2 separate regions of the Homo sapiens genome follow, and region 2 is linked to region 1. Evidence: promoter capture Hi-C in 16 types of primary human blood cells and fetal thymus (Javierre and others, 2016). All regions are on one chromosome and are shown on one strand. Each heading gives the region's core, a stretch centred on a gene start or on the middle of the fragment in contact. The rest is flanking DNA. Distances are from core to core; before and after follow the strand shown. Region 1 holds the start of CREBL2 (cAMP responsive element binding protein like 2). Region 2 overlaps MANSC1 (MANSC domain containing 1).

What was found. The method cuts DNA at HindIII sites, captures the fragments that hold promoters and counts their contacts. A CHiCAGO score of 5 or more calls a contact.
Region 2: a fragment that was not itself captured here is called in contact with the fragment with the promoter of CREBL2 in region 1 in 1 of 17 cell types (total CD8 T cells); the score reaches 5.6 in total CD8 T cells.

What each region holds. Positions count from the first base shown.
Region 1 is chr12:12,609,408-12,615,704 of GRCh38, reverse strand. CREBL2 (cAMP responsive element binding protein like 2) reads right to left here and starts at 3,829. Exons shown (of 4, transcript NM_001310.4): 1 at 3,518-3,829. The coding sequence starts at 3,532. It also overlaps the pseudogene RPL21P136. RefSeq lists a silencer at 3,476-3,775 and enhancers at 3,936-3,985, 4,036-4,115, 3,709-4,460. The HindIII fragment of the contact is 19,687 bases long and covers 1-6,297 here.
Region 2 is chr12:12,326,229-12,332,241 of GRCh38, reverse strand. MANSC1 (MANSC domain containing 1) reads left to right here. Exons shown (of 4, transcript NM_018050.4): 4 at 1,284-6,013. The coding sequence ends at 2,215. Among named protein-coding and RNA genes, the nearest start is that of MANSC1, 21 kb to the left of the region's middle. The HindIII fragment of the contact is 859 bases long and covers 3,651-4,509 here.

The DNA.
Region 1 (6,297 bases), core at 2,580-5,079:
CTGGCCAACCTAGTGAAGCCCCAGCTCTACTAAAAATACAAAAATTAGCTGGGCATGGTGGCACACACCTGTAATCCCCACTCAGAGGCTGAGACAGGAGAATTGCTTGAACCAGGGAGTCAGAGGTTGCAGTGAGCCAAGATCGCACCATTGCACTACAACCTGGTGACAGAGCAAGACTCCGTCTCAAAGAAAAAAAAAAAAAGAAGGTTGATATTTTAGACATCAATGGAATGGGGACTGTTTAAAAGGGAATACCTTACACAGATCACCTGAGGTCAGGAGTTCCAGACCAGCCTGGCCAACATGATGAAACCCTGTCTCTGTTAAAAAAAAAAAAAAATGCAAAAAGTTGGCCAGGTGCAGTGCTCATGCCTGTAATCTCAGCACTCTGGGAGGCCGAGGTGGGCGGATCACTTGAGGCCAGGAGTTCGAGACCAGCCTGGCCAACATGGCAAAACCCTGTCAGCCTGGCCAACATGGCAGGCTCTAATAAACCCTATCTCTAAGAAAAATACAAAAATTAATCGGTTGTGGTGGCATGCACCTGTAATCCCAGCTACTCAGGAGGCTGACGCAGGAGAATCACTTGAACCCGGGAGGCGGAGTTTATAGTGAGCCAAGACTGCACCACTGCATCAAGCCTGGGCGACTGAGCAAGACCCTGTCTCAAAAAAAAATTAGCCGGACATGGTGGCCCATGCCTGTAATCACACCTACTCGGGAGACTGGGGCTGGAGAATCGCTTAAATCCAGGAGGTAGAGATTGCAGTGAGCTGAGATCGTGCCACTGCACTCCAGCCTGGGGGACAGAGAGAGACTCCATCTCAAAAAAAAAAAAAAAAAACTAATGCCCTACAAATCTTACTATGGCAAAACTGGAAGAGTCTACAATGTTACCCAGCATTCTGTTGGCATTGTTGTAAACAAAAAAGGGAAAGATTCTTGCCAAGAGAATTAATGTGTATATTGAGCATATTAAGTACTCTTAAGAGCTGACAGCTTCCAGAAACGTGTGAAGGAAAATGATCAGAAAAAAAAGCCAGTGAGACCCTCATCTCTGCAAAAAATTAGCTAGGAATGGATGTGCATTCCTGTAGTCCCAGCCACTTGGGAGGCTGAGGTGGAGGATTGCTTTGAGCCCAGGAGTTCGAGGCTGCAGTGAGTTGTGATCACACCAACGCACCCCAGCCTGGGCAACAGTGCAAGACCCTATTTCAAAAAAAAAAAAAAAAAAGGAAACTAAATAAGAAAGGTACCTGGGTTCAATTGAAGCACCAGCCTACTCCACCAGTGGAAAACAGCCTGAGCTACTAGAACTTATTCCCTATGAATTCGTGGCATAATAGGGGTAAAAAAGACAAAAGGTGTAAAAACGTTTATCTTCATTGAGTAGAAGTGTGATGTCCTGGCCGGGCGCAGTGGCTCACACCTGTATTCCTAGCACTTTGGGAGGCTGAGGTGGGCGGATCACCTGAGGTCACTCGAGTTTGAGACCAGCCTGATCAACATGGTGAAACCCTGTCTCTACGAAAAATAAAAATTTAGCTGGATGTGGTGGCACACGCCTGTAGTCCCAGCTACTCAGGAGGCTGAGGCAGGAGAATTGCTTGAACCCAAGAGCAATTCTCGGCAGTGAGCCGAGATCGTGCCACTGTACTCCAGCCTGGGCGATACAGCGGAGACTCCGTCTCAAAAAAAAAAAAAAAAAAAAGAAAAAAAAGAAAAAAGAAAGAAGTGTGATGTCCCCTCCCCAAAGAAATATTCAAAGCAAAAAAAAAAAAAAATTACTTGCTGATTTTTCTGGAAAACTTTTAGAACGCTACCCTTCTGTCTTGGAAATACCACTTCCCCAATATCATACCCCACGAATGTTACTATAGTAAAACTGAAGAGTCTACAATGTTATCCCGCATTCTGTTGCATTGTTGTAAACAAACAAGGGCAAGATTCTTGTCAAGGGAATTAATGTGTGTACTGAGCATATTAAGCACTCTTATGAGCTGATAGCTTCCTGAAACTCGCCCCCCTTCTGTCTTGGAAATACCACTTCCTATTAAGAGGGGTTTACTACTTCACAAGCAATCCGTTCCTCTAGGTGAGTAACAATTCCAGAGTACTGCACTGGGCTTTCCCTTCCATCTGTCACTTCCTCACAGCCTTCTACATGAAGAGGAAGAGAAAACAAGAAGGAAAGAATAAAACAAGGAACACAGAGAAGTTGGAAATTTTTTGAATCTCTCTGAGGATATGTGAAACAAAAACTGCAGCAGCAGCAAAAAAAGACACCCAAACAAAGGACAAAGCTATCGTAAAGAGTATGCCAAAGACTGTGAAACAGAAGACGCTGAGAAGCACAAAGAAGGACGGTTTTTACTTTAAAAACTGGCAAATTTTAGAAGTCTGATTCCTTAAAATAAAAAAGTCCAAATCCAAAACAACCTGAAACATCAATAAACAAATCTTTGACCATCCCTATCTTCAGGAAATAAAACTAAACAACACTAATGTGGGTAGATGTAAAGAGAGAAAGGCGGCCAGGCGCGGTGGCTCACGCCTGTAATCCCAGCACTTTGGGAGGCCGAGGCGAGCGGACACCTAAGATTGGGAGTTCGAGACCAGCCTGACCAACATGGAGAAACCCCATCTCTACCAAAAATACAAAATTAGCCGGGCATGGTGGTGCATGCCTGTAATCCCAGCTGCTCGGGAGGCTGAGGCAGGAGAATCGCTTGAACCCGGGAGGCGGAGGTTGTGGTGAGCCGAGATCGCGCCATTGCACTCCAGCCTGGGCGACAAGAGCGAAACTCCGTCTCAATTAATAAATAAAGACAAAAAGGCTATACATAGATAAACTATTTGGATTAACCAATAATGAACATTATCTATTATTTTATAATCATAAAGTAAGTGATTTGGACAGGGAAATTGGATGGTGATGGGCTATTAAAGTTAACAAGAGGAAAATCAGTATTTTTTTAGAGAAGGCTTTCTAGTGGAGGTTAAACTCCACACTGGCCAAATAGCAACAGGAGCTTAGCGGTGTTCCAACCAACCACAGGAAATAGCTCAGAGGGGGAGTGAACTGATTATATGAATGGGGCATTGAGTAAGGGAGCCTGAGAGAAGGGGAATCGTCAAGGGGAATAAGGCTGGTTCAGCGTGCACTAAAGTCTCCAAACTGGAGAGAGGAGGCAGCAAAAAAGTGCAAGAAGAAAAAGTACAGTAGTTTCTTATCTCGACAGGCAAGTTAAGGACTAGGGGTTGCACTACCTGGAAAGCTAGCAAACGCCCTGGGAGTGAAAAATTTCCAGAGAGGGCCCTTCCTGGAAAAACGCAGCCCCGGTGTTCCCTGATTTCCTGGCTGGGTACCATCGGGCAGTGGACTGGAGAGGCGCAGGGATGTTTTAGGCAGGTGTCTCTTGGGTGTTGGCGTGGACTACATAGCGGAGGTTCAGCCGCGGGACTAGCATTGAGCGACAAGAAGGCGGCGGCGCGTGCAAACCACAAGACTTACCTTACTGTCATCCATCGCGGCAGACAGGCCGGCCTGGCCAGGCACTCCCTCCCGGAGCCCTCCCCCGGCTCAGCCGGCCTGGCCCGGCCCCCGCCCCGAGGAAGAAGGGGATATGGTTCTGGCTGCCTCCTCCTCTCGCCTAACAGTTCGCTTCCCTGATGCCAGAGTCACGGGGACGAGGGACCAGTTCAGGAATGGCAGAGCGGACCCTGGAGGCGGCCCCAAACGCCTCCCTTCGCCGCCGCCGCCTCCTCCTCCCCCTCCATGACAGTCTCTGGGTGTTTACAGACGCTCTGGAGAGCCGCCGAGACCGGAGGGTGGGCGGGAGCGCTGCACACGGAATGGCCCCTTCGGCTGCCGTAGCACCGCGGCATTCTGGGAATTGTGATTTTTCTTATCACAGTCTCTGCGCTACTGACTGGAAAAAAAACTACGATGTCCACATAGCCTCATTAAGGGGCAGCTGTTTTCCTTTTGCCTACTAGCTAGCGCTGAGGAGGCGGGGCTGGGCTGGAGGCCCAAAGTGCGCCTGACCTGAGGTTTTGGCTCCTAAGTGCCAGGGCCTGGAATGGCGGGGACGGGAGTTTGGTGCTCTGCGGAGGCAGCCCTGAAGGCGGGGTGCCGGAAGCAGGCCCTCCTCTGGGACGCTGAGGAAACCCTAAAGGTTCTTTATTTAAAAAAAAACGAAAAACAAAAACTAAGTATGTAAAATAGTGCAGCTACTTTGGGAAGAAATTTGGCAGTTCTTCAGAATATTGGCCACTCCCATACCCAAGAGAAATTAAAACGAGTGACTACACAAAAACTTGTATATAAATGTTCTTTCCTAGCAGCATTATTCATAATAGTCAAAAAGTGGAAACAACGCAAATGTCCTTTACTGGATGAATGGATAAACCAGTGTGGACTATACAAATTAAGAAATACTGGCCAGGGGTGGTGGGTCACGCCTGTAATCCCAGCACGTTGGGAGGCCGAGGCGGGAGGATTGCTTTAGCCCAAGAGTTCGAGACCAGCCTGGGCAACATAGCAAAACCTGTCTCTACAAAAAAATACAAAAATTAGTCGAGTGTGGTGGCACATGCCTGTAATCCCAGTTACTGGGGAGGCTGACATGAGAGGATCACTTGGGCCTGGGAGGCAGAGGCTGCAATAAGCCAAGATTGTACCACTGCACTCCAGCCTGGGCGACAGAGCCAGACACTGTATTTAAAAAAAAAAAAAAGAAGAAGAAGAATGAAAGAAGGAAGAAGAACGATGAAGGAAGAAGAAGGAGAAGAAGGAAGAAGAAAGAAGAAGGAAGAAGACCCATATAGTAAGATGCAGTCTCTACAAAAAAAATTAAAAATTAGTTGGGTGTGTTACAAAAAATTTAAAAATTACTTGGGTGTGGTGGTGGTGCTTGTAGTCCTAGCCACTCGGGAGGCCCAGGTGGGAGGATCGTTTGAGCCCTGGAGTTGGAGGCTGAAGTGAGCTGTGATCACGGCACTCCAGCCTGGGCAACAGAGCAAGACTCTGTCTCAAAAAAAAAGGAAAGAAATATTATTCAGCAATGAAAAAAAATGAAGGGATATACACACTTCAATATGTCTGAACCTTGAAAACTTTATGTGAAGTGAAAAAAGCCAGACACAATAGGCCACATATTGTATGATTCCATTTATAATGAAGTGTCTGGAACAGGCACATCTAAATAGACCAAAAAATCCATTAGTGGTTGCCAAGGGCTAGGGTTGAAGAATGGCAGGGATGGAGGGATCCTGGAAAGGAGAGTGACGGTTAATGAGTACTGGGTTTCTTTTTGAGGTGATGAAAATGATCTAAAATTCAGCCGGGCATGGTGGCTCACGCCTGTAATCCCAGCACTTTGGGAGGCCGAGGTGGGCTGATCACCTGAGGTCAGGAGTTCGAGACCAGCCTGACCAACATGGAGAAACCCATCTCTACTAAAAATACAAAGTTGGCCAGGCCTGGGAGAGCATACCTGTAATCCCAGCTACGTGGGAGGCTGAGGCAGGAGAATGGCTTAAACCCAGGAGGCGGAGGTTGCAGTGAGTTGAGACCGTGCCATTGCACTCCAGCCTGAGCAACAAGAGCGAAACTCCGACTCAAAAAAAAAAAAAAAAAAAAAGAAGAAAAGAAAATTATCTAAAATTGATTTTGGTGATGGTTGCACATCCTGTGAATATATTAAAAACCACTAAATTGTAGTTTAACTGTAGTTAAACCACTTTAAATGAGTGGATTATATCTCAATAAAGTTATTTTAAAAATAACTGGCTGTGTCCTCATTTAATAAAGTCAGTGAGCTTGTTTTTACTGTTGTTTTTGTTTTGGCCTACCTCGGGCCTTTGAGAACTTGACAAAGATTGCATATTTGTCAATGCTGCTCCTGAAGAGCCCTTTGGCTCACACCTTTTCAAAGACTCACAAAGTGCTTTCTCAACCCTTGCAAAATCCAACTGAGGTAGAGTTCTCAGATTTAGCAATATAGACACAGAATACTCAATTACATTCGAATTTCAGATAAACCGCAAATACTCTTTTAGGAAAGTGTGTCCCATGCAACTTTTTTTTTTTTTTTTGAGACAGAGTTTCGCTCTGTCACCCAGGCTGGAGTGCAGTGGTGCAATCTCGGCTCATTACAGCCTCTGCCTCCCAGGTTCATGCCATTCTCCTGCCTCAGCCTCCCGAGTAGCTGGGACTACAGGCGCCCACCACCACGCCCAGCTAATTTTTGTATTTTTAGTACAGACTGGGTTTCACCGTGTTATCTAGGA
Region 2 (6,013 bases), core at 2,831-5,330, 280 kb after region 1:
AGCAGGAGTGAGTGGACTGAGAAATGCCAGGACATTCCTCTGCTTCTTTCCTTGTGTTTTCTGCAGTTCTAATGTGAGATGGTTAGCCTAGCAGCAGAGTGATACATGGCAATTCACCTGGTCATTCCCTGCACTTGATTGCTTGAACAGGTCTTTCCAGTTTGAGCTGTGATAAATGGGGTGTGTGATCAGGAGAAAAATTCTAAGCTTCATGGAGCAGGAGCAGGATCTGGGGCTGGTTTCTCCTCAGCAGGCATCGGGACTGTATGGTTTTTCTGCCCTCTGTGTCTACAGTGTGGTCATCATGATTTCAAATATTGGTCCCATCATCCTCATGACCTATGACATTGGCTCCAAAATTCTAATCTTTGAGAGTCCAAATGAAATCTCCCAGATAGCCTCCCTCCTCTGCGCACAGTGCTGGAACGATATATCTCTGGTTTTTTGTTGTCGTTGTTGCTGTTCTGCTGCTGCTGTGGCCTCAGTGCTCAGAGCGGAGACCAGACCCTGCCTGGCCCCTCCTCCTCCTCCCTGTCAGAGACACACCACAGGGATTCTGCTCCCTCTCTCCTGCTCTATTGCCTCATTTCCCACAGCTTCCACATACCTTTCTTGCCTGCCTCATGCCCCCACTGAAATCTCTCCTGATGATTACTTGCTCCCCATTTGTCATCTCAGTCTTAGGTGGCATGTCTTGCAGAAGCCCACACCTTCCCCCGCATTCTCCCTGCCAACCTTTCCTGCTCAGGTCACCCTCCGGCCCACTTTTTTCCCTGGCCTTGGCCCCTTAGGAAGACGGAGAACCCTTTCCATCTTTGTAAGCCTCTTGCTGCCCTGCTGAGCCCCTCCGGCTTCTCTGCTGTGCACCTCCCACCTTTTCCTTAATTTGCCTGGTCCTCCTCCACACATTTCTCTTCTCTTCTGTCCTATCATGCTAGAAATAAACCACAGCATCTGGTAGAGAGGCGGCGTTATCAGATTCTCATTTAGCAATTTGTGTTTTTCCATTTTGCACACATTTCAATGAAATGTCAAGTATCAACAGTTTGGAGATTTTTTTGTTTAAGAGACAGGATCTCCCTATGTTGTCCAGGCTGGTCTCCAACTCCTGGCCTCAAACCATCCTCCTGCCTTAGCCTCCCAAAGTGCTGGGATTATAGGCGTGAGCCACCATGGCCAACCAGTTTAGGGATCTTTTGAACAAGCTGATATGTTTGTATTTTTTTAACCTACCGTAGCATGGAGTTACATAAGCCTTCCTTTTATTTTCCATACATTTTCAGATTTTCCATCTTTGACCAGAAATTTGCCAAGCCAAGAGTTACCCCAGGAAGATTCTCTCTTACATGGCCAATTTTCACAAGCAGTCACTCCCCTAGCCCATCATCACACAGATTATTCAAAGCCCACCGATATCTCATGGAGAGACACACTTTCTCAGAAGTTTGGATCCTCAGATCACTTGGAGAAACTATTTAAGATGGATGAAGCAAGTGCCCAGCTCCTTGCTTATAAGGAAAAAGGCCATTCTCAGAGTTCACAATTTTCCTCTGATCAAGAAATAGCTCATCTGCTGCCTGAAAATGTGAGTGCGCTCCCAGCTACGGTGGCAGTTGCTTCTCCACATACCACCTCGGCTACTCCAAAGCCCGCCACCCTTCTACCCACCAATGCTTCAGTGACACCTTCTGGGACTTCCCAGCCACAGCTGGCCACCACAGCTCCACCTGTAACCACTGTCACTTCTCAGCCTCCCACGACCCTCATTTCTACAGTTTTTACACGGGCTGCGGCTACACTCCAAGCAATGGCTACAACAGCAGTTCTGACTACCACCTTTCAGGCACCTACGGACTCGAAAGGCAGCTTAGAAACCATACCGTTTACAGAAATCTCCAACCTAACTTTGAACACAGGGAATGTGTATAACCCTACTGCACTTTCTATGTCAAATGTGGAGTCTTCCACTATGAATAAAACTGCTTCCTGGGAAGGTAGGGAGGCCAGTCCAGGCAGTTCCTCCCAGGGCAGTGTTCCAGAAAATCAGTACGGCCTTCCATTTGAAAAATGGCTTCTTATCGGGTCCCTGCTCTTTGGTGTCCTGTTCCTGGTGATAGGCCTCGTCCTCCTGGGTAGAATCCTCTCGGAATCACTCCGCAGGAAACGTTACTCAAGACTGGATTATTTGATCAATGGGATCTATGTGGACATCTAAGGATGGAACTCGGTGTCTCTTAATTCATTTAGTAACCAGAAGCCCAAATGCAATGAGTTTCTGCTGACTTGCTAGTCTTAGCAGGAGGTTGTATTTTGAAGACAGGAAAATGCCCCCTTCTGCTTTCCTTTTTTTTTTTTGGAGACAGAGTCTTGCTTTGTTGCCCAGGCTGGAGTGCAGTAGCACGATCTCGGCTCTCACCGCAACCTCCGTCTCCTGGGTTCAAGCGATTCTCCTGCCTCAGCCTCCTAAGTATCTGGGATTACAGGCATGTGCCACCACACCTGGGTGATTTTTGTATTTTTAGTAGAGACGGGGTTTCACCATGTTGGTCAGGCTGGTCTCAAACTCCTGACCTAGTGATCCACCCTCCTCGGCCTCCCAAAGTGCTGGGATTACAGGCATGAGCCACCACAGCTGGCCCCCTTCTGTTTTATGTTTGGTTTTTGAGAAGGAATGAAGTGGGAACCAAATTAGGTAATTTTGGGTAATCTGTCTCTAAAATATTAGCTAAAAACAAAGCTCTATGTAAAGTAATAAAGTATAATTGCCATATAAATTTCAAAATTCAACTGGCTTTTATGCAAAGAAACAGGTTAGGACATCTAGGTTCCAATTCATTCACATTCTTGGTTCCAGATAAAATCAACTGTTTATATCAATTTCTAATGGATTTGCTTTTCTTTTTATATGGATTCCTTTAAAACTTATTCCAGATGTAGTTCCTTCCAATTAAATATTTGAATAAATCTTTTGTTACTCAGTAGTGTTCTCATAAGTAGCATGTCCAGCTGGATAACTTTCCATTTATTTCCACTAGCAAAATGATTATGTGGTGAAAATATGCGTTCCACGTTAAAATGACAACCCCCCCTTTTTCCCATCAGTGAGCAAAGAGCTTCACTTGGGAGAATCTAGCGGAATGTTAGCCCACATGGAGACAATGATAAGTCAGTTCTGATAAATGGCCATATCCACTTGGGATCTGTTCTAGTTAACTTGTGTGTGTGTGTGTGTGTGTGTGTGTGTGTGTGTGTGTGTGACAGAGTCTTGCTCTGTCACCCAGGCTAGAGTGCAGTGGCGCGATCTCGGCTCACTGCCAGCTCCGCCTCCTGGGTTCCCGCCATTCTCCTGCCTCAGCCTCCCAAGTAGCTGGGACTACAGGCGCCCGCCAACACGCCCAGCTAATTTTTTATATTTTTAGTAAAGACGGGGTTTCACTGTGTTAGTCAGGATGGTCTCGATCTCCTGACCTTGTGATCCGCCCGCCTCGGCCTCCCAAAGTGCTGGGATTACAGGCGTGAGCCACCGTGCCCGGCCTCTAGTTAACTTTTTAAAGAAGTATTATAGACATTTTCTAAACTTGTACTAAGTTAAAAATGTACCACTATTATTTTATATCCTTACTTAAATTGACCAGCAATCAGTCTAAGCTTAATTTAGAACAACATTGGAAATAATAACTAGCACAGGCCAGGCGCGGTGGCTCACGCCTGTAATCCCAGCACTTTGGGAGGCCGAGATGGGCAAATCACGAGGTCAGGAGATCGAGACCATCCTGGCTAACACGGTGAAACCCCGCCTCTACTAAAAATACAAAAAATTAGCCGGGCGTGGTGGCGGGCGCCTGTAGTTCCAGCTACTTGGGAGGCTGAGGCAGGAGAGTAGTTTGAATCCAGGAGGCGGAGGTTGCGGTGAGCCAGATTGCACCATTGCGCTCCAGCCTGGGCAACAGAGCCAGACTCCGTCTCAAAAATAATAATAATAATAACTAGCACTAACATGATGCTACAATTTTTACTGGTTACCAATTAAAATTTCTGAGAAAGGCTTTTAATAAAGTTTTCCAGACAAGTTATAGGTGAGGTAACAAAGAGTCCAGAAGTCCCCTGGGTCAGTTTGATACCTCTTTCCTCTGGACTTCAATTTGCTTATCTGCAAAACAGGAAATTTGATCCCTTCCAAGTGTCACCAGAGTTTTTAAAGATAAAAATGGAATTCAGATGCGAACTTAATACAGTGAGCACTAGAGGGCAGTAGCTGGTTAATAAGTACAGCAATTAAGACAAATGCAGGAAATGACAGAAAAGGCTTTTCTTCTCCTTCCTCCTCACCTCTTCCTTCCTCCTCACCTCCTTCCCCTCTGCTCTTCTGGTACCCCTCCCCCATTTCCCTGGTTTACACTAAGTTCATAAAGTACATTAAGAGGAAAGCTGGTCTATTGAAAATACTACTTTTCTTATATTTTCCAACTTAACAGCTTGACACAAATCTCCAAGGGGTTTACATAAGCTTTAAGTAGGCTGAATAAATAAAACCTTGAGTCAATTTAACTTAACAAGTATTTATTGAATATCCACATGTAGGCCAGAATCAGATTAGTAACCAGGTGCCTTGGAATTTTAAAATTTCTCCTCTCTTTATTAATGGATTTAGCGAGTGGAAATCAGGCTTTCTGTGATGGTTTATAAAGGTATTTTCCTGGCTCTCTTGGAGTTCTCTGTCCACCTTGCTGCAGTCTTTGTTGTGATGGGGAGACCACATGGGAGCGGTCCAGATGAGTGATGCTACGGGCCCAAACTGTTAGTGGCCGTGAGGATATAGGTTGTAGGGGACATCTGGAGTGGAAAGAGTGCTCTTCTCACACAGCTCTCTCTACTTACTGCCCCTAGGATGGTGGGTGCAACTGTGGCAAGGGCAGTCAGGGTAGGGGAATCCCTTAGAGGAATTCAGCAGTGACTAGTCTGGTTAGCCTTTCCCACAAGGCCCATTGAGTTATGAGCCCCCTCCTTTGGTTTGTAGAAAGAGAAGGTAGCAGCCTAGAACAGGTGAGAAGATGAGGTAGGTCCTTCTGCTCAAACATCCTCTCTCCGTATTTTACCAACACGATACTGACCTAGGTTAAAAAGCTACTCTTGGCCAGGCGTGGTGGCTCACGCCTGTAATCCCAGCACTTTGGGAGTCCAAGGTGGGTGGATCACCTGAGGTCAGGAGTTCTAGACCAGCCTGGCCAACATGGTGAAACCCCATCTCTACAGAAATACAAAAATTAGCCAGGCATGGTGGCAGACACCTGTAATCCCAGCTACTTGGGAGGCTGAGGTAGGATAATTGCTTGAGGCCGGGAGGGGGCGGTTGCAGTGAGCCAAGATCGCTCCATTGCACTCCAGCCTAGGCGACAGAGCAAGACTCTATCTCAAAAAAATAAAATAAAATAAAATAAAAATAAGCTACTCTTAGCCAGGCACATAGTGGCTCACATCTGTAATCTCAGCCCTTTGGGAGACTGAGGTGGGAGGATCACTTGAGCCCAGGAGGTCGAGGCTGCAGTGAGCCATGATCACGCCACTGCACTCCAGCCTGGGCGACAGAACGAGAGCCCATCTCAAAAAAAAAAACAAAACAACAACAACAAAAAAAAAACTAAAAAACTCTTAAAAAACCTGAGGACTCCTGGATGAATACTGTTATGTGCCTGTTTCTCAATTACCCCTGGCCTGAGTGAGGAACTTTTGGAACTCTTTGGCTCCCAGACTGTGGTGGGCACTACCGGTCAGCTGCCCAGCAGCCAGCCCTAGTCCCACTTCTGCCTCATTTGTTACAGGTTGGAAGTGCCAGGTTCAGGGATGGGCCTGTGACCCAAGTTTTAGCTGAAAGGAAACCTACTAGGGACTTCTAGGAGAGATTTTCTTGCTTGTAAAGGGAAGGCTGCACAAGGAGAAAAGCCCTTTCTAACCACATCCCCTTATTTCATGCTTGGGATGCTGACCATGTGAAGACTTGGTTGTTGGAGCTGTG